4 separate regions of the Homo sapiens genome follow, and regions 2, 3 and 4 are each linked to region 1. The links are contacts of gene promoters, found by promoter capture Hi-C in human tissues and cell types (Jung and others, 2019). All regions are on one chromosome and are shown on one strand. The core of a region is centred on a gene start or on the middle of the fragment in contact, and the rest is flanking DNA. Distances in the headings are between cores, read along the strand shown. Region 1 holds the start of TEX14 (testis expressed 14, intercellular bridge forming factor). Region 2 overlaps PPM1D (protein phosphatase, Mg2+/Mn2+ dependent 1D). Region 3 overlaps USP32 (ubiquitin specific peptidase 32). Region 4 overlaps MSI2 (musashi RNA binding protein 2).

What was found. Contacts are between HindIII fragments. The study calls those that stand out against the background at their distance.
Region 2: a fragment that was not itself captured here is called in contact with the fragment with the promoter of TEX14 in region 1 in 1 of the 25 tissues and cell types used here (hippocampus).
Region 3: a fragment that was not itself captured here is called in contact with the fragment with the promoter of TEX14 in region 1 in 1 of the 25 tissues and cell types used here (aorta).
Region 4: a contact is called between a fragment that was not itself captured here and the fragment with the promoter of TEX14 in region 1, in 1 of the 25 tissues and cell types used here (bladder).

Annotation. Positions count from the first base shown.
Region 1 is chr17:58,688,396-58,693,334 of GRCh38, reverse strand. It overlaps TEX14 (testis expressed 14, intercellular bridge forming factor), which reads left to right and starts at 1,290. Exons shown (of 32, transcript NM_031272.5): 1 at 1,290-1,396. It overlaps IGBP1C (IGBP1 family member C), which reads left to right and starts at 1,290. Exons shown (of 2, transcript NM_001395966.1): 1 at 1,290-1,396. RAD51C (RAD51 paralog C) reads right to left here and starts at 733. Exons shown (of 9, transcript NM_058216.3): 1 at 547-733. The coding sequence starts at 691. RefSeq lists enhancers at 376-545, 876-975. The HindIII fragment of the contact is 12,262 bases long and covers 1-4,939 here.
Region 2 is chr17:60,629,197-60,634,135 of GRCh38, reverse strand. It overlaps PPM1D (protein phosphatase, Mg2+/Mn2+ dependent 1D), which reads right to left. Exons shown (of 6, transcript NM_003620.4): 3 at 159-283. Among named protein-coding and RNA genes, the nearest start is that of PPM1D, 31 kb to the right of the region's middle. The HindIII fragment of the contact is 6,347 bases long and covers 1-4,939 here.
Region 3 is chr17:60,259,214-60,264,152 of GRCh38, reverse strand. All of the region lies in intron 9 of USP32 (ubiquitin specific peptidase 32), which reads left to right. Among named protein-coding and RNA genes, the nearest start is that of CA4, 110 kb to the right of the region's middle. The HindIII fragment of the contact is 5,233 bases long and covers 1-4,656 here.
Region 4 is chr17:57,357,750-57,362,688 of GRCh38, reverse strand. All of the region lies in intron 5 of MSI2 (musashi RNA binding protein 2), which reads right to left. Among named protein-coding and RNA genes, the nearest start is that of MSI2, 100 kb to the right of the region's middle. The HindIII fragment of the contact is 4,832 bases long and covers 1-4,334 here.

The DNA of each region.
Region 1 (4,939 bases), core at 41-2,540:
TGGGTGTTTCAGTTAATTACGTAAGAGAATATTCTTTCTATGCTTCCTCAAGATTCCGGGGATTCTACTCTCTTTCTCATTCTTAGTGTCTCTAGTCCTACACAAAATCCTGCATTTCTGAAATTTAACCCTTACCCCTTGGATCTTGGAACAGCAAAAATTAGACAACCAATTCTGACTCCAGTATTTCCTAACCCAGTTAGCATGAAAAGTTACCTAAGCTCCCCAAGATATCAGTTCTCTCATCCATATACTGAATATAATAATCTACGTAAGCGGGTTGAGGGTTAAATGAGACAATCCTCAAAGCATTCAGCAGGCATTGCCAGAGGAAAAGCAATTAGTAAATGTTTTCACGACCACAGTTCTCCTAACCATTCAGACAACTTGTAAGTGGAGTCGAGGAGCTCTTTCACGCTGTAAACATGGACGTGGGAGGAAGCAGAATCTAACGGAGACTGGGCTGAAGGCCGAGGCGAGAGAACGAAGACTGAGGCGGCGCTGACGGCGGCCGGTGTGCCTCAGCTTGCCATCAGGAGTCGTTACCTTTGCTAAGCTCGGAGGGTTTCACCTCTAGGAGTTCCTCAGCAGTCTGGAACCCCGCAGACACCAGCTTCACCCGCACCGCTGGAGACAGCGGGAAACTCACCAAATCCCGCTGCATTTCAAAGCGGAACGTCTTCCCGCGCATCGCAGGCTCACCTGCTAACCCCGGAGCAGCCAAACTCCGCACGCCCTCGCTGGGGCGTGCGGCGTGACGTCAGACGTAAAGCGGAAGGGGCCGGCTCTGCGGCCTGGCCGCACGGGGCTCCGGGCCTTGCAGCTTTGCGCAGTCTTGTAAATTTTCACACTTATGCACCATTCCGTTTTGATTCCCCAAAATCCCATTTAGAGATTCCTCATCAAATGTACACCCTGACTGTAAAACGATGGACGGAGACCATAGGACGGAGAGCCAGGCCCAGTGGGTTCTCCACGCCACATTTCCTTGCCTCCACCGTGGCCTGTTAGGTGAAGCCTCAGAGTCATTAATAGGAATGATCTCGAGTGGGAGTAGTGAGCGTAACGGGCACACACTAGCCAGTTACCATTATTTTGGTGTGAAAAGCTCAGGGAACAATCATTAGAATTAATCTGCGTGCTCTTTGTAGAGTTGCAGTCTCTTGGCTCTTCCCGCTGACCGTCCCCCTTTTCTGACCCCCCCCCCCCGCAACGACCACATTGCTTTTCCCGCCCTCGCGAGGGATTGTGGGCCAGCCCCCAACGGCCGCTGGGAGGGATCAGTCCGCATTCCCCGCACCCACCCACGTCTTCCCGGGAGTCGTATCCCGAGCATGGAGGTTACTGAGACCGTTATTTCTTCATGGCCTGCCTAGCTTAAGCAGTAGCTGGAAAAGTAAGCAACTAATGTCCCCATTAGTGTGTCTGGGCTCCTGGGGTCCTGAGAAGGAGGGGCTGGGCTACACAAGAGCTCCTTTTGTGGTACAGACTTGGGAAGGGGTGTTCAAGCAGTGGTAGTGACCGCCTCTAAATTACAGAACTTCGGGGAGGAAGGCAAGCAGTTTAGAAGGTGGTTTATGAGTTCCTTCCTTGCCTAGGTGAGTGTAACTTATTTAGCAGGGGGTAACTTATTCCCTACCTATTGGCGATTTTTTTTTTTTTTTTTTTGAGACAGAGTCTCACTGTGTTGCCCATGATGGAGTGCAGTGGCACGATGTCGGCTCACTGCAACCTTCGCCTCCCGGGTTCAAGTGAGTCTCCTGCCTCAGCCTCTTGAGTACCTGGGATTACAGGCGCACGCCACCATGCCCGGCTAATTTTTGTATTATTATTAGAGAAGGGGTTTCACCATATTGGCCAGGCTGGTCTCGAACTCCTGACCTCGTGATCCGCCTGCCTCGGCCTCCCAAAATGCTGGGAGTACAGGCGTGAGCCACCGCGCCCGGCCCTGTTGGCAATGATTCTTAGTCTTGACTTTTCTTCCCAGCTTAGAAGAACTTTCTAAATATTGCAAATCAGAGCCCTCTACATACTTAGATCTAAAAAAGGAAACAACGTATGTTGAGCACTTTAGCAAATCCCACACATTTCAAATGGCCATAGCCATGCCAAAAGGAAGATAAGGACATGGAAGCTCAGCATATAGTTTAATATCAATTCTGATAAAAGAAAAAAAGCTGGCCGGGCGCAGTGGCTCGTGCCTGTAATCCCAGCACTTTGGGAGGTCGAGGCAGGTGGATCTCTTTGAGCTCATGAGTTTGAGACCAGCCTCGACAACATGGCGAAACACTGTCTGTACCAAAAGTACAAAAAATTAGCCGGGCATGGTGGCATGCACCGGTCGTCCCAGCTACTCAGAAGTCTGTGGTGGGAGGATCCCTTCAGCCTGGGAGTGAGCTATGATCACGCCACTGCACTCCAGCTTGGGTGATAGAGTGAAACCCTGTCTCAAACAAACAAAACACCTCAGCACAGTTTTCTTAAAGCCAAGATTCAAACCTAGCATCCTTTTTACTACCCCGAGCTATTAAGATTTTGAGTCCCTACTGGCGGGGAGAATACGAGAAGCATTTATACCCCATTTGGTAGGTCAAAGAAAGTCTTGTAGGACTGGCCAAAATGTGGTTGGCCACTCAACCCATTGCTTAACTTCTAATATGGTCTATATTTGAGCGCTCAGTGGATGCATAAATACTATCTTCAGGGAGATTTCATGCTTATGCTTATAAAGCACCCAGATTCTTGGGTGAAGAAAAAACATGGTATTACCACATTCAACAATAAGTCTTCAGTTAGTTTGGTCAAACTCAGTGGAATCAGTCGTGTTTAGAATTTCTTTCGTTGACAGTGGAAAGTTCAAAACTACTTTGGCCTGGCACAGTGGCTTAAGCCTGGAATCCAAGCACTTTGGGAGGCCAAAGAGGGCACATCGCTTGATCTCAGGAGTTTGAGACCAGCCTGGGCAACAGGGCAAAACCCCATCTCTACAAAAAATACAAAAATTAGCCAGCATGGTGGTACATGCCTCTAGTCCCAGCTACTTGGGAGGCTGAGGTGGGAGAACCAATTGAGCCCGGGAGGTTGAGGTTGCAGTGAGCTGAGATTGCGTAACTCCACTCCAATCTGGGCGACAGAGCGAGACTCCATCTCAAAAACAAAACAAAGCAAAATAAAAAAAACAAAAAAACCCCCACTCAACTCTATCTATAGCTGTATAATTTAAGTGCTATTAATATCTTCTGCAGATCACAAGGTCAGGAGATCGAGACCATCCTGGCTAACATGATGAAACCCCGTCTCTACTAAAAATACAAAAAATTAGCTGGGTGCGGTGGTGGGCGCCTGTAGTCCCAGCTACTCGGGAGGCTGAGGCAGGAGAATTGCATGAACCCAGGAGGCGGAGCTTGCAGTGAGCCTAGATCACGCCACCACATTCCAGCCTGGGCGACAGAGCGAGACTCCATCTCAGAAAAAAAAAAAAAAAAAATCTTCTGGCCCTTGCCTATAATAATTATTTTCATCATCATTCTTAAGATGTCTTTAATGCAATTTGCTCTGTAGTCATGCTTTCAAACTGGGATCCAGGTTTTTGAAACCACGCACTAGGAACTAAACAAAGCTATGGGATAAATATGGAAGGTGCACCTTCTTGTGTAATCACTTTTCTCAAAAAAAATCTTTCAGGGAGGGAAGAGTTAAATGATTTACCTAAGTCATTTGAAATGGTTTATATTAAGCAGACATTACATCTGTGTAGTGTGGATAAATCATTAAAATTTTTGAAAAAGAAAATAAACTTTAATAAAACATGGGGTAGGCCGGGCACGGTGGCTCACTCCTGTAATCCTAGCACTTTGGGAGGCCAAGGCGGGTGGATCATGAGGTCAAGAGATCAAGACCATCCTGGCCAACATGACGAAACCCTGTCTCTACTAAAAACACAAAAATTAGCTGGGCATGTTGATGTGTGCCTATAGTCCCAGCTACTTAGGAGGCTGAGGCAGGAGAATAGCTTGAACCCAGGAGGCAGAGGTTGCAGTGAGTGAGATCAGGCCACTGCACTCTAGCCTGGAAACAGAGAGAGACTCCCTCTAAAAATAAATAAATTAGCTGAGCGTGATGTCTCACGCCTGTTTCACAGCACTTTGGGAGGCCGAGGTGGGCGGATCACGAGATCAGGAGATAGACTATCCTGGCTAACACGGTGAAACCCCATCTCTACTAAAAATACAAAAAATTAGCCGGGTGTGGTGGCAGGCACCTGTAGTCCCAGCTACTTGGGAGGCTGAGGCAGGAGAATGGTGTGAACCCGGGAGGCAGAGCTTGCAGTGAGCCAAGATCATGCCACTGCACTCCAGCCTCTGTGACAGAGCGAGACTCCATCTCAAAAAAAAATATATGTATAGAAATAAAAACAAAATGTGGGGGTAAAATGCAAATATAAAAATAAAATTTAAGAGAAAAGTATGAGGTCAGAGACACATCAGGCTTAAACTGGATACTTCAGTAATCTCCCAAACCCCCCCCGGGAATATGTTTTGGTTTTTCTTGCAACTTGAGGTTACTTCATGAAAAAATTTGAGAGACATTGCTATGGGCAAACCAGCATGGGCTGCGGAGTCACACAGATTTGGATTTGTATCACATGTCTGGAAGTTACCAACTATGTGACCTTCAGCAAGTTACTCAGTCTCCTCACCTGCAAGTAGAAGATAATATCTCCTGGGGTTTTGGTCAAGATTAAATTAACACATATACAGTACTTATCACACAAAAAAGTACATAATAAATCTGAGTCTGTTTCTCAGTTTTTACAGCATTCTAATGCGCATATTCAGTTGGAATAAATCCTTATAGAATACCTAGCTCAGCAGAATGCTAATGCTGAGACGTTTTTTAAAAATGTTTACAATTAGGCCAGACACTGTGGCTCACACCT
Region 2 (4,939 bases), core at 1,456-3,955, 1.9 Mb before region 1:
CATGGCTTCGATTAGGTTCTAAAGCAGTTAATAGAATATCATGATATCTCTACCCTCACTATATGCCAAGTAAGGGTTTAGTTCTGTCTCCTCTTTTATTTTGCCACCATATATTGTAGAAAATTCAATATAATTTCACCAAATTAAGTCCTACTTACCAAGTGCTCTTGCTACTGCCAGAAAAGGAATCTGGTCAATAACTGTGCTCCTTCTAACAGGTCCATTGTGAGTGAGTCGAGGTCGTTTCCAAACTACACGATTCACCCCAGACTTGTTCATTACACTAAAAATAAAGAGTTCACATAAATAATCTAAATGATTAAAATACAACAACTAAGATAGCTCAGTATATTAAATCACTAATAAAATAAGACTACATTATTACAAAATAATGTCTTATGTGTTTCAAATACAAAGATGCATAAGCCAAAATTCCTGTTCAGAGAGGAATTAGGGTAGATTCAAAGTGGAAAATTTTGAGATTACTGGAATAGGCAGTATAACCAAATGAATGTAATGTGAAGAAAAGTAAGTATAAATACCATGTCAAAAAAAAAGCAACACTACCTAATTAGTAAACAATTGGGGGTTGACAGAAGGCCTTATCTAAGTGGAGAGAGAACTGCTTGAACTCGGGAGGCAGAGGCTGCAGTGAGCCGAGAATCACACCACTGTACTCCAGCCTGGATGACAGAGCGAGACTCTTGTCTCAATAAATAAATAAATAAATAGGCATTAAATTGTGATATAAGCAATTAAAAAGGAAAGGTTATAGGGTTCTGAGTGTTTATGTTGAGGACGGGCGAAACAGCAGAACTTCAGTTTTAATTTTTGTTGTTGTTGTTGTTTTTGAGATGGAGTCTCACTCTGTTGCCCAAGCTGGAGCACAATGGTGTGATCTCAGCTCACCACAACCTCCACCTCCTGGGTTCAAGCGATTCTCCTGCCTAAGCCTCCCGAGTAGCTTGGATTACAGGCGTATGCTACCATGCCTGGCTATTTTTGTATTTTTAGCAGAGATGGGGTTTCAGCATGTTGGCCAGGCTGGTCTTGAACTCCCAACCTCAAGTGATCTGCCCACCTCGGCCTCCCAAAGTGATGGGATTACAGGCTGACGTCAGCCACCGTGCCCAGCCAGTTTTTTTGTTTATTTTTATTTATTTATTTTGAGATGGAGTTTTGCTCTTGTTGTCCAGACTGGAGTGCAGTGGCACCATCTCGACTCACTGCAACTTCCGCCTCCTGGGTTCAAGCGATTATTCTGCCTCAGCCTCCCAAGTAGCTGGAACTACAGGCACACGCTACCACGCCTGCTAATTTTTGTATTTTTAGTAGAGACAGGGTTTCACCATGTTGGCCAGGCTGGTCTCGAACTCTTGACCTCAGCCTCCCAAAGTGCTGGGAGCCACCACGTGGGCCACCACGCCTGCCTAATTTTTTCTTTTTTGAGGAGACGGGGTCTCACTATGTTGCCTGGGCTGGTCCTGGGCTTAAGCCATCCTCCCACTTCAGTCTCCCAAAGTGCTGGGATTACAGGTGTGAGCCACAGCGCCCAGCCTGTTTTTTGTTTTCTGATACAGGGTCTCTGTCGCCCAGGCTGGAGTGCAGTGGTGCACTCATGGTTCACTGCAGGCTTGACTTCCTCCTGGGCTGCAGTGATCCTCCCACCTCAGTCTCCTGAGTAGCTGAGAATACAGGCATGTGCCACCATGCCCAGCTAATTGTTGGCAGTTTTAATATGATTTCAGCAATATACAGAAAATACTATATATTTAGGTATTTCTGTAATTCAAAGTTTGAGACTAGACTTTGTGAAATAGATCAGCTGTAGACATATAGATTTGGGAGTTACAAGAGTAAGAAAACCCTCCTAAAATGTGTCATAGGAGCAAAAGAAATGCCTAAAACTTGGAAATATGATTAGGTTTTTTTTTTTGTTTTTGAGACAGAGTCTGGCTCTGTCACCCAGGCTGGAGTGCAGTGGTGCGATCTCAGCTCACTGCAAGCTCCGCCTCCCGGGTTCATGCCATTCTCCTGCCTCAGCCTCCCGAGTAGCTGGGACTATGAGTAGCTGGGACTACAGGCACCTGCCACCATGCCTGGCTAATTTTTTGTATTTTTAGTAGACACGGGGTTTCACCAGGTTAGCCAGGATGGTCTCGATCTCCTGACCTCGTGATCCACCCACCTCGGCCTCCCAAAGTGCTGGGATTACAGGCGTGAGCCACCGCGCCCGGCCTGAAATATGATTAGTTCTTTAGGAAAAAACACTGATAATCAAAACATTAGAGATGGTCTCTCAAACTATGCCTGGCATGACCGAAATGAGCTTTACTTCAAATGGGAATTGATTTTTTAAATTTAATTTTTATTAATTTAAACAGCCATTTGTGGCTAGTGGTGAGTATACTGAACAGTCCAGAGGAAGACTGAAACAAGTAGAGAATGACCAGAAAACATTGTGGGTGTTAACAAAGAAGAGAAATTCCAGAAAGTTGCTCATTCACCATCCCCCCACCCTTTTTTTTTTGGAGACAGTCTCGCTCTGTTACCTAGGCTGGAGTGCAGTGGTGTGATCTTAACTCACTGCAGCCTCAGCCTCCTGAGTAGCTAGGATTACAGGCACCCGCCACAATGCCCGGCTAATTTTTTTATTTTTAGTAGAGACGGGGTTTAACCATATTAGCCAGGCTGGTCTCGAACTCCTGGCCTCAAGTAATCTGCCTGCCTCAGCCTCCCAAAGTGCTAGTCTTACAGGCATGAGTCACCATGCCCAGCCTACCATCCCTTTTGAGAACTAGTTTTCATTTGGTTTTGAGACAGGGTGTCGTTCTGTTGCCCAGGCTGCAGTGCAGTGGTGTGATCGTGGCTCACCACAGCTTTGACTTCCCAGGCTCAAGTGATGCTCCCACCTCAGCTTCCCAAATAGCTGGGACCAAAGGCATGTAATTTTTTTGTAGAGAACAGATCTCACTATGTTTGCCAGGCTGGTCTTAAACTCCTGGGCTCAAGCCATCCTCCCATCCGGGCCTCCCAACATGCTGGGATTACAGGCGTGAGCCACCATGCCCAGCCAAGAACTAGTTTAAATAAGTTCTGATATAAATAGGTTGATCATAACAAGAGTTAAAATATCAAAGGCATTCATTTTGTTGTATTAAGCTTTCTTCAATGATGACTCTCAAAAGTCAACAGCAGAGTAAAGACTAAACTTGCCATTCACAAGAATCCATGAAACACAAGAGTTATAAGATGCCAACATTCTGCCTTAATACCATCTTAAAGCTCTATTATTCTTTGCTAAACCTTCTCCTTACAAGGTAAGGCTTAGTACCTAAGTAATTTACAGTAGCTGCTTCCAACATAACTAGACGAGCAGCTCTCTCGACACTTAATATTCAAAGATATTATGATCTGTGTTTCTGAGAAACAAAAAGACAAATAATGATACTGGTTAAAACATAGAAGTTTCAACATCTAGTAACAAAAAACCAAAGCAATGTTATAAAAGATGCTTTTACTGCACTTCCTGTTGTTGTCCTATATGATTAAAAGGCATGTAAAAAGGAACAGCCTGACACGCAGAGAGCTGACTGAGCAGCAACAGAAGGCTGGAAAAACAAAATGCTGGCCCGTTGCCTAGGCCGGGACAGAGGGAAGCAAGGAAATAACTTATAATAAAATAGCTCAATTTTTGCAAAAAGTTACCTGCTCCAAAATAGCGGAGTATCTGCCCAACTGTCCAGATGGTGTTTTTGGTAATAAAGCCAAAAAACTCTTTCTAAAAACATTATTAAAATCAAATAAAATATAATTTTAAAATTCAAGTAAAAAAACAAACAAGAAAGAATAGTCAAGAAAGGTATTTTTAAAACACAAAAGGGTAATTTCTTCTGTAGAAAATAATTATTTCCTTTTTTGTTCATTTATTTTATTTATTTATAATTATAAAAAAATTTTTTAGAGATGGAGGTCCCGCTATGTTGAACAGGTTGGTCTCAAACTTCTAACCTCAAGTGATCCTCCCATCTTGGCCTCCAAAGCGCTAGGATTACAAGTGCCGCAGCCAGCTGCTTTATTTTATTTTATTTTTTTTGAGACAGTTTTCACTCTTGTTGGGCAGGCTGGAGTGCAGAGGCAGGATCTTGGCTCACTGCAACCTCTGCCTCCCAGGTTCAAGAGATTCTCCTCCCTCAGCCTCCCGAGTAGCTGGGATTACGGGAACATGCCACTACGCCTGGATAATATTTTTGTATTTTTAGTAGAGATAGGGTTTCGCCATGTTGGCCCGGCTTGTCTCGAACTCCTGACCTCCGGTGATCCGCCCGCCTCAGGCTCCCAAAGTGCTGGGATTATAAGCGTAAGCCACTGTGCCCGGCCCCAAGAAAAGTATTTTTTAAAAGGAAGATTAATGAGAAGGAATCAGGCCTACCAATATTTAAAATTATAATAAAGTCTCCGTTTTAAAAATTATAATACTGGTAAATAAGCAGGAAAAAAATTATAGCCCAGAAAAGACCCAAATATATGGAAGAATTCTGTTTATAATTTGCAAAGCCCACTTAGCATGACAACCAGCAGAGATGTCAGATATATTCTCACCTTCACAATCACAAGATCAAATAGACTATAGCCTGAAAGGAGGTTCATCTAACTTTGCAGAATACTGGGCAGGAAATAGAGTATGCCACCATAGCAGCTTCAAGGATATTGTCTTCAGCAGTGATTCAGACAGCCAGAAGCCATTTTTCCATCTCCCAAGTGATGGCTCAGTTGTAAGCAAGACGACAGGGTCTAGCTTAGGTAAGCTTCATGTGTCACAGAAACCAATGTAATAAATAGCACATGACTACAGTTTCTTGGTCCCTACACAAGACAAACTGCATGCATACAAGGAAGCCAAGGCCTGTGCTTCCGAATAGAAATGTACAGTCCATTC
Region 3 (4,939 bases), core at 791-3,290, 1.6 Mb before region 1:
ACATGTACTTTATAAATTAAAAAAAAATCCTTGACTTATTTAGTTTGGTAACATTTATTAGTAATGTTATCATAATAGATTTACTCCTATAGCTTGCATTACTATGATGTCTATGTGTCCCTGTGAAATTGAAAATAAATTACCTGTATGAGACACATTTGCATAAATTGGAGTCTTTCTACTGAAGCATTGACATGTACCAAGTCGCAGATTGGTAGGATCTACACCACAATGGTGTTATTAAATAGAGGTTTAGAATAAATAAAGAACGTCAGTTTTTTTTCTTTCTTCAATCACAATTTCAGAAGAAATTGTTAATGGCCCTATTAACTGATTCTCAATAGAAACAAATAATAGAAATGAGTTTCAGGCTAGAGCTTTGACAATTCAGTCCCCTTCTTTCTCCTCTCTGCCAGAAACTAAGGTATCGACTTCTATTTCGTGTGTATGAGAACAAAAACCAGGAAAAGTTTCTGTTAGAAAATGCCTTGTGTAGAGATAAAATTTTGAACACCTTTTTTCTAAGTGTTTCATAAGTATGTAGGTATTTTTGCTGTCGCCTTTTATGTTAGATGGAGTTTCTACTTCTGGCTCTTCTGTGAACATTAAACAAGATCATTTAGCTGCTTCATTTCCATGTAACCATGATAATGAAATAGTAATAGTTTGGGATAGAACTTGGGTTTTTTAACCAAGCCTATTAACCATATTCGCTGGTGACTAGATTGTACCAACATTACTCATTCTTTTTCTGACTTCCAACTCTTCTCTGTTTTATCTAATTCATCTGTTGACTATTTAATGATACTCTGTAGTGGCTCAAGAGATCTAGATGTTACCCTTGGATAGTTTGTAGTATACAGGTAAAGATAGACAAGTGTGATCAGGGCTATGTTAGAAGTTGAGGCTGGGCATGGTAGTTCTCATCTATAATCCCAGCACTTTGGAAGGCTGAGGTGGGAGAATCACTTGAGCCCAGGAGCTCTCGACCAGCCTGGGTAACATAACGAGACTCTATCTCTAAAAAAAGAAAAAACGTAGCCAGGCACAGTAGCACATGTCTATAGTTCCAGCTACAAGGGAGGCTGAGGCGAGAGGATCATTTGAGCCTGGGAGGTCAAGGCTGCAGTGTGCCATGATTACACCACTGCACTACAGGCTGAGCAACAGAATGAGAACTTGTCTGGAAAAAAAAAAAGGTTAGCACCAAGTATTACGGTGAGAGGATAGAAAGGGAACCATGTAAATTGAACTTTGAAAGTCCAGAAGATTTCTGCTGGGATGTGGCACTTTAATAATTAGTTAATTATGGTTAACAGAAGTAAAAAGTTGAAAGGTGATTCCTAAAAGAGGTAACAACTAGGGGTAGAATAGAAGACATTATTACTGTATAGGACTGTACAGTAAAACATCCTGTGTAGTCCTAGAACTGCAAATATTCTGATGTGGCTGGAATAACAGATTCATATATTGAAGGCTGTAGACCTGGATTGGAGACGTATCTTGAAGGGCCTTGGGTACAAAACTCAGGAGTTGAACTTTATACCAAACTATGGAGAAACCTCCAAAGATTCAAGTAGAACAGAGCAAGTGATCAGCTGACACTATTTTGAAAATCAGGGCCACATTTAAACGGAGGACATTTACAAATAAGTCATATAGGTTGGGCATGGTGGCTCACGCCTGTAATCCCAGCACTTTGGGAGGCCACAGTGGGCGGATCACCTGAGGTCAGGAGTTCGAGACCAGCCTGGCCAACATGGCGAAACCCTGTCTCTACTAAAAATACAAAAATTAGCCGGGCATGGTGTTGGGCATCTGTAATTCCAGCTACTCAGGAGGCTGACGCAGGAGCTTTGCTTGAACCTGGGAGGCGGAGGTTGCAGTGAGCCAAGATGACACCATTGCACTCCAGCCTGAATAACAAGAGTGAAACTCTGTCTCAAATAAATAAATACATACATACATACATAAAACAAAATAAATAAGCCATATAGTCAGTGAATTTGCTTTAGAAAAAGTTCATATGATACCTTGCTTAGCAGTAGTCCTAACTGCAGTCAGTAAAACATCCATTAAATTGGGAGAAAATAAAATCCATTTACAGTTCTAGATTTTAAGCATAATGCTCTATATGTTTTTACAGTGTGTTAATTATTACTCAGGTGTCAGTATAGCAAATGGGCTTTTGATCATCATTGTATGCATGATGATTCTGTACGGTGGTATCTATTATTTCTTTTCATGACGTTTCTTTCCTTTTGGACAGTATTAACATATCTTTGAGGTCAGTGTACCTGAAAATTGTTCCTTGAATATTTGTGGTTATATAAAAGAATCAGATTATCATCTTAAAAATACTTTTTACCATCTTGAGCATTTTATATTTTGTTCTGTTAGATATAAAAGGTTCTTATACCATGTATTAATAATTTATCACACATATCAAATTACATTTGTCCTTTTTTTGTTTTTTTGTTTTTGTTTTTGTTTTTATTTTTGTTTTTTTGAGATAGTCTTGCTCTGTCACCCAGGCTGGAGTGCAGTGGAATGATCTCGGCTCACTGGAACCTCTACGTCCTGGGTTCAAGTGATGCTCCTGCCTCAGCCTTCCAAGTAGCTGGGATTACAGGCTTGCACCACCACACCTGGCTAATTTTTGTATTTTTAGTAGAGACGGGTTTTGCCATGTTACCCAGGCTGGTCTCAAACTCCTGACCTTAAGTGATCCACCCGCCTTGGCCTCCCAAAGTGCTAGGATTACAAGTGTGAGCCACCGTGCCTGGCCTACATTTGTACTTTTTAAACAGCCTTTATTTTAGTTTTATTAGTAGCATTTTAGATTTTCAAACAATAAAATTAATAGAAGTTATTACATTTTCATATTTCACTGTGATTTTCCTATCTGTTCTAGATGCTGAGTCCTATAAAATTAAAATGGGTTTACACTAGCTGTTAATTTTGTCATCAGTGCAGAATCATTGACAATTATTACTTCAAAGATAAACAAGTAGCATTTTGAAATATAGCCTATGTTCAACATAGCTTCTCCCTCTGTTGGCATTCTTCATTTTTCTGTCCTGGAATTTTAGTCGTGACTGTTCAGTGTAAAACTCCTGAATGAGTTGAAATTTATCAGATCATATCCTCACCCGTAGAGTTCATTAAGTTATGTGACATGTTTCTCTTTTGCCTCCTCATGACTGAGATACATGATGTGGCAGAGCTTGCAGTTCTTCTGGGTTTTTTTTGTTTTGTTTTAAGAATTAAAATTTTAGTTATTCTCAATGGATGTTAGAGGGGAAGATATACTATTCTGACTACTATCAAGTGTAGGAGAAATTTATATGTATTGTGTGTGTGTTCTATATTTAAAAATTGAATAATACTGTATAAGCGATTATGCAATAATTTTTTTCTGAATTTTCCTAAATCTGTATATAATTTTCTATCTAGCATATGAAAGATGCTTAGTAAATAAATGTTTACTTCATAAACTTAGTAAAATGTTTACTAAGCATCTTTCATATGCTAGATAGAAAATTATATATAGATTAACTTAGTCTTTTTATCCTCTGCATAGTATTCCATTATGATTATGCTATGATTTATTCCTGTATTTTTTTTTTTTTTTAAAGTCTTGCTCTTGTCACCCAGGCTGGAGTGTAATAGCGTGATTTTGGCTCACTTCAACCTCCGCCTCCTGGGTTCAAATGATTCTCATGCCTCAGCCTCCTGAGTAGCTGGGATTACAGGCACCCGCCACCACACCCAGCTAATTTTTTTGTATTTTTAGTAGAGACTAGGTTTCACCATGTTGGCCAGGCTGCTCTCGAACTCCTGACCTCAGGTGATCCACCTGCCTCAGCCTCCCAAAGTGCTGGGATTACAGGCATGAGCCACCGCACCCAGCCTATTCCTGTATCTTTTAAAACCATATTGCTATAGCCAAAAAGTCATTTTCAAAGGCAAGAGGAATACTAATGATGGATGGTTATCTAGTAATTGATGGTTCTGATAGCATTGTAATATGAACAACAGGTCTCTTAAGTCAAAGATTCTTTTGTTCATAATGTATTACAGTTCCAGATGCCTTTAACTTCTTGTACAGTTAGTACTCACTTAATGTTGTCTTTAGGTTCTTGGAAACTGCAACTTTAAGTGAAAGGGTATAGAACAAAACTAATTTTACCATAGGCAAACAAGAGTTAAGTTCCTACAGCATATTTCTAGTCACAAAAATATCACCAAACTTCTAAATAAAGACCCCAAGCACTTCTAATATTAAGCTTTGAAATAAATGTGAACTATAAACAGATCTAAGAAAGATTGATAAAAACAAGATAATTATTTACCCAGTTTTTGGTGAATTAGTGAGTGACAGCAGCAGTCATAGTGGTGATGGGTTAAATCAAGGGATAAATTTGCAAAATGAAAATTATAAGGAACACCTCCTACCACCTTGCAGTTCAAAAACTAACAATAACAAATATGGGAGGCTCATTGAGTACTTTCTCAGCATATCATTTATTATCATGCATTTGTATGATCATTGCATACTTGTTATTTTATGGTAATTTGTATTCATTTCCAACCCGCTTATTCCAGTTCAGGTTAGTGGCTGGCCAGAGCCTATCCCTGCAGCTCAGGGTACAAGACAGGAACCAACCCTGGACAAGACTCCATCCCACTGAAGGGCGCGCTCACACGTATATCCACACTCACTCATACTGGGACAATTTATTTAATTTTTTCATTTTTTTGTTTTTTTACATCACAGCATTGTTACGTGAATTGTTTACAATACAAACAAAAAGGGCATATATGCTATATATGAATACAGCTCAGTGAAAAATAGTGACTTCTTCTCTTTAAAAGGCCATGATTCTTATTTCTAGTAAACTAAAGAGACCGCAGGTTGGTCTTTATCTTCTCAGTG
Region 4 (4,939 bases), core at 669-3,168, 1.3 Mb after region 1:
ACAGCTCACAGACATAAAGAATAAATCTGGCACTTTTTTCCCCCCTAGAACCACATGGCTCCTCCAACTCAAAGCCTTAAGTTCAAAAAATTTATGGACTAAAACTTCAGAACTGTAAAATAAAATTGTTAGAAAATGCTGTTGCAACAGTTGACGGATCATTACAACAGCCACTTAGCAAGCCATAAACTCACTGGGCAAACAGAATTGGGTCAGATATTAATTTCCACAATGGGAGGGTAACCAGAGACAAGTTACTTCGCCATCTCTCCCTTTTCTGATCATCTGGTGAGCTTCCATTGCAGGAATGCCACAGGATCTTCCGTTTAGGAAATGAAGGCTGCAGTTCCCTCAAATATAAACAAAGACAAGATTTCCCATATCCAACACTATTACCGAACAAAATGGAAGTGCAAATAGAAATATACGTTTAATTTAAATGTCTGAGCCCAGCTCTGTTTCTACAAACTGCAATTTGGTTCCACATTCATTCCCTGGCCATTGAAAGCCAACCTCATTTTGTTTACAAAGATACTGCCCACCACTGGGTTCCGTGCAGTTCCACGAGCCATTCACATATTCTCAGTTCCAGAAGGAAAAGTCAAGACCACAGGCCAACAAGGTAGACCCCTTTCCTAATAGCCAATTATCCCAATCCCAGAGATAAATTCTGGCTTTTCCAGGAGACCTCAGTTTTATGTATTTTCTAGATTTTGACCAAAATAATTTGTAGAAATATGTAAGAAAATGGAATTCCATTTTTCTATCTTTGTAAGCCTGACCATACACATATATAAAATGATCCAGGACAGGGCCTTAGGGCATGTGTTCCAATTTTGGGCTCAGAACGTACAGTCAAACCTTGAACAACACAAGTGTAAACCATGTGGGTCCACTTATATGTGGATTTTCTTCCACCTCTGCACCCCTGAGACAGCAAAACCATCCCTCTTCTTCCTTCTCATCAGCCCACTCAATGTGAAGATAACAAGTCTGAAGTCCTTTATGATGATCCACTTCCACTTAAAGAATAGTAAATATATTTTCTCTTCCTTATGATTTTCCTTTTTTTTTTTTTTTTTGAGACAAGGTCTTGCTCTGTCACCCAGGCTTGAGTGCAGTGGCATGATCTTGCCTCAATGTAACCTCTGCATCCTGGGTTCAAGTCATCCTCCCACCTCAGTATCCTGAGTAGCTGGGACTACAGGCATGAGCCACCATGCCCAGGCTAATTTTTTTTTTTTTATTTTTTGTAAAGACAGGGTTTCACCATGTTATCCAGGCTGTCTCGAACTTCTGAGCTCAGTCCATCTGCCCGCCTTGGCCTTCCAAAGTACTGGGTTTACAAGCATGAGCTACTGCACTCAGCCATGATTTTCTTAACATTTTCTTTTGTCTAGCTTACTTTATTGTAAAAATGCAGTATATAATACATATATAAAGCATGTGTAATCAACTGTTGATGTTATCAGTAGGCTCTAGTTGATGATAGGTTAAGTAGTTACATTTTGGGGTACTCAAAAGTTATACGCAGATTTTCAACTGTGCAGGGGGGCCGTAACCCTTGAGTTGTTCAAGTGTCAACAACATATTAACTGTGCACAACATACCCCCCACTCAGTTCAGCTAGGATCCCTTCAGAAAGGAAGCAGATGGGAGATACTCCTGACCTCCCCATATTCCGAGTTAATATTCCACTTGTTACAATCCATAGCAAATTTTATGGACAAGTTATAACCGTCAGAATTAAGCAGCTCACACAGAAATCTGCATCTTCACCTTAACCATGTGGCATCTACGCATCCCATAATTAGCCTCTGCTGAATGAATATTAAGTTGTACGCAGGTACAAAGGGTCAATTATATCACCAAATGAAGAAAAGAGAAGACACTTGTCTTGGCCTCTGGTTCTGTCTTAAATTAACTTTTAATATTGAACAAAATGTTATATTCGCTCTTCCCATATTCTAAAAATTTCTCTTCTGTGGAAGCAATAAGATATTTTTAAAATTTAATAGAACTAAGAAACTGTAGAAGAATCACTCCATGGGCATAAAGCCTAGTTCTAACATTTTCTCTTCATGGGTTCACACAAAACACTCAGAAACACTGCCCACCTCAGTGCTACCAGATTAAATGAGTTGAGATGCTATGGCCCTCACGGGCCAGGAGAGCATCTGGGGACAAGAGACAAGTCAGCTGTGCAGCTAAAAGTGGAACCTGGAGCCCTTGGACAGCCCCAACAAAGCCAAAACCCTACTCAGCAAGGGAGAGCCCCTAAACCAAGGGCTGACTAGCCTCTCCTAGAGATCAGAGGCTCGGAGAAGTTAGGAAAAGGCAAAACTGTTCAAGAGAAAAAGTTTCACCTATTATACCCCTGGGCCTCAAGCCCTTTCTGATGTGAGGCAGGGTAGAAAATCCACCAATAAACAAATTAAACACACAAGCACGAGCATGTGGCAGCAGCCCAGCTCCTTCCTTAAGTCCTAAAACTGCAGTCTAAGGAAGACCCAGGCTTGCTCCAAGTAGCTGCAGACATCTGGCTTCTGAAGCCCCCATCATAATAAAACATGGGTGCAACCCCCAGTGCCTCCTCGCCTGCTCTGGGCAGCCACTCCCTCACCACACGTGAAGGCACGGAGCTTTCTGGAAAACAGGGTCTACAGCACTTCTCTGGTGCCAAACCCTGGGACACCTGAGGATTTCCTAAGAGATAAGATGGAGGGCCAGGCTCCCTGAGTTGCCTGTGAAGAGTTTCCCAGAATACCCCACATCACAAATAAAGGTGCTGAGTGGCATCACGAGGGGTGGGGAGCTCAGCATAGTGGGTGACAGGCTAAGGCAGCAAATAGGAGAACACTCATAAAGAAATTTTAAACTATATTCATTGCAAAAGAAAGCAGAGTAAGCCAACCATAAAGGAAATGGTAGTGGGGTCACCAAGGGCTCGACAGGGCTTCAGCCAGGGCCTCAACAATTGGGATTTCCGAAAGGGAAGCAGCAATGCCTGCTGTAGCTGCCAGGATCCTATAGTTTGGGGTGTCATCACTTGACCTCAGCCACTGGATGGCAGATGCAATTCCCCTACCCATGACTGGGTACAAACTTTGCCATCAAGTGCTATTAATCTCACTACCAGCTTTTATTGAGGACTCACTCAGACAACCTTGGCAGGGAGGCAGTACTGGGACATCCATTTTATAGTTGAAGAAACTAAGACTCAGACAGGTAAGTCCGCCCCCCAGAATTACAGAATTACAGAAGTTGGTAACTGGACTTGGAGCCTTTGTCTTTCTGACTTTAAGACCCATGCTCTTAACTATCAATCACCCTATTCTATCTCCCTTGTAGCTGAATTCAATAATATTAAAGCTGAATTCAATAAAATTAAATTTTAAAAATAAATAAAGATTAAAATGCCCATATTGAGTTGGAACAAAGATATGCCACCATGAGACCCAGACAGCTTGATGGGCTGGCTCTCAGCAGAGATGTGCCCCACTCCCCAAACCCAAGCAGTGGGACCTAGGGGATTTGGGGAATCGGAGAGAGTGCATAAGATGCAGGGTCATTCCTCCGGGAGTGGCGGGAGAAAGGAAGGGGCCCCTGCCACTGGGATGGCAGGACCACCTGTTCACCTGCTCTGCTGAACAGTTCCCATTCTCCCACCCAAGTTCTGGCCAGCAATGGCATCAAGAGACTTTTGTGGGTGAACAGAGTTGCCCTCTATAAAACCAATCGCAAAGTATAAGGAACAGCCCTCTATAAAACCAATCTCAAAGTATGAGGAACACTCCTCAAAAGATGATACGTTGCTAGGGCTGGGCCCTAGCAACATATCATCTTCGATTTCACCTACAATCTTCTTGACCATATTTACATTTTAACATGTACAACACTTTAGGTACAGACACTTCTATAAAACTGTTAGAAGTGCAATGAAAATCAGCACTTCTTTTATTTGTCCTAAAATTATTTTCCTCAAACCTTGTACTTATGGTTTTCATGGAATTTGTGTGACCTTCCCTCTTTTAACCTCACTGGGCCATTTCATTTGCACAATGAAAGCTTTGATCTAACAAACCTCCAAGGCCCCCTCCAAACGCTAATGACTAGGATCTCACATCCCATATTCACCTTTCTAATACATCACTTTCATACTCAACCTTCTCCAATCTCACTTTTCCAAAAGATCCTTGTACTAGTGATGACTTTCTAGGATGACCATTAGTCCATAAGATGCCTTTGCATGAATCAGAAAAAGATGCTTCCTTCCTTCAAATGGACGCAGCCTGGCCTCAGAGCCTTGAGTCATTCAAGGTGTTACCTGGCAAGCCCTTAACCTTAAATATCATTGCAATCTTCAGAAGAGCCAGCTTCAGCCCATGAATGCAACCACCCAGGAGAAAAAATGCCTGAAGGAGTCATTCTGGTTTTACAGGTACAAATGCTGTCCATAAACACACACACACACACACACACACCCCCCCACACACACAGAAAAACCCACGAAGATCTTTCTCTTCTTCCCTCTGCCCTCAACTTTTCACTGATGCTTTTCTTTAAGGGCAAATAGTTGCCAAGGTCTATAACTGCAAGCTTTGCAACTCCCCGTGGGAGCCAAGCCTGCCAAGTGTGGTGCCTCAAATAGCAGCCCCCAAAGCTGTGGGGTTCACTGAGTATCATTCAAGACAGAAGCAGGAAAGCATGTGTGTGACCACAAGACCTCAGAAAGGAGATGGGGCTGTACAGAGATCCTGGCTGGATGATCAAGTCACTAAGGTCAAAGGTAAGGGCAAAGACTCAGTCAAGAGAAACAACAGAGCACCTTCAGCTCATCAAAAAAAAAGATTAATGTATTAATCGGAACACTAAGCATTTCTCCCTTGAGTATTTTCTCTTCCTATTTACTGATCAAATCTTTGTGAATGAAAGCACA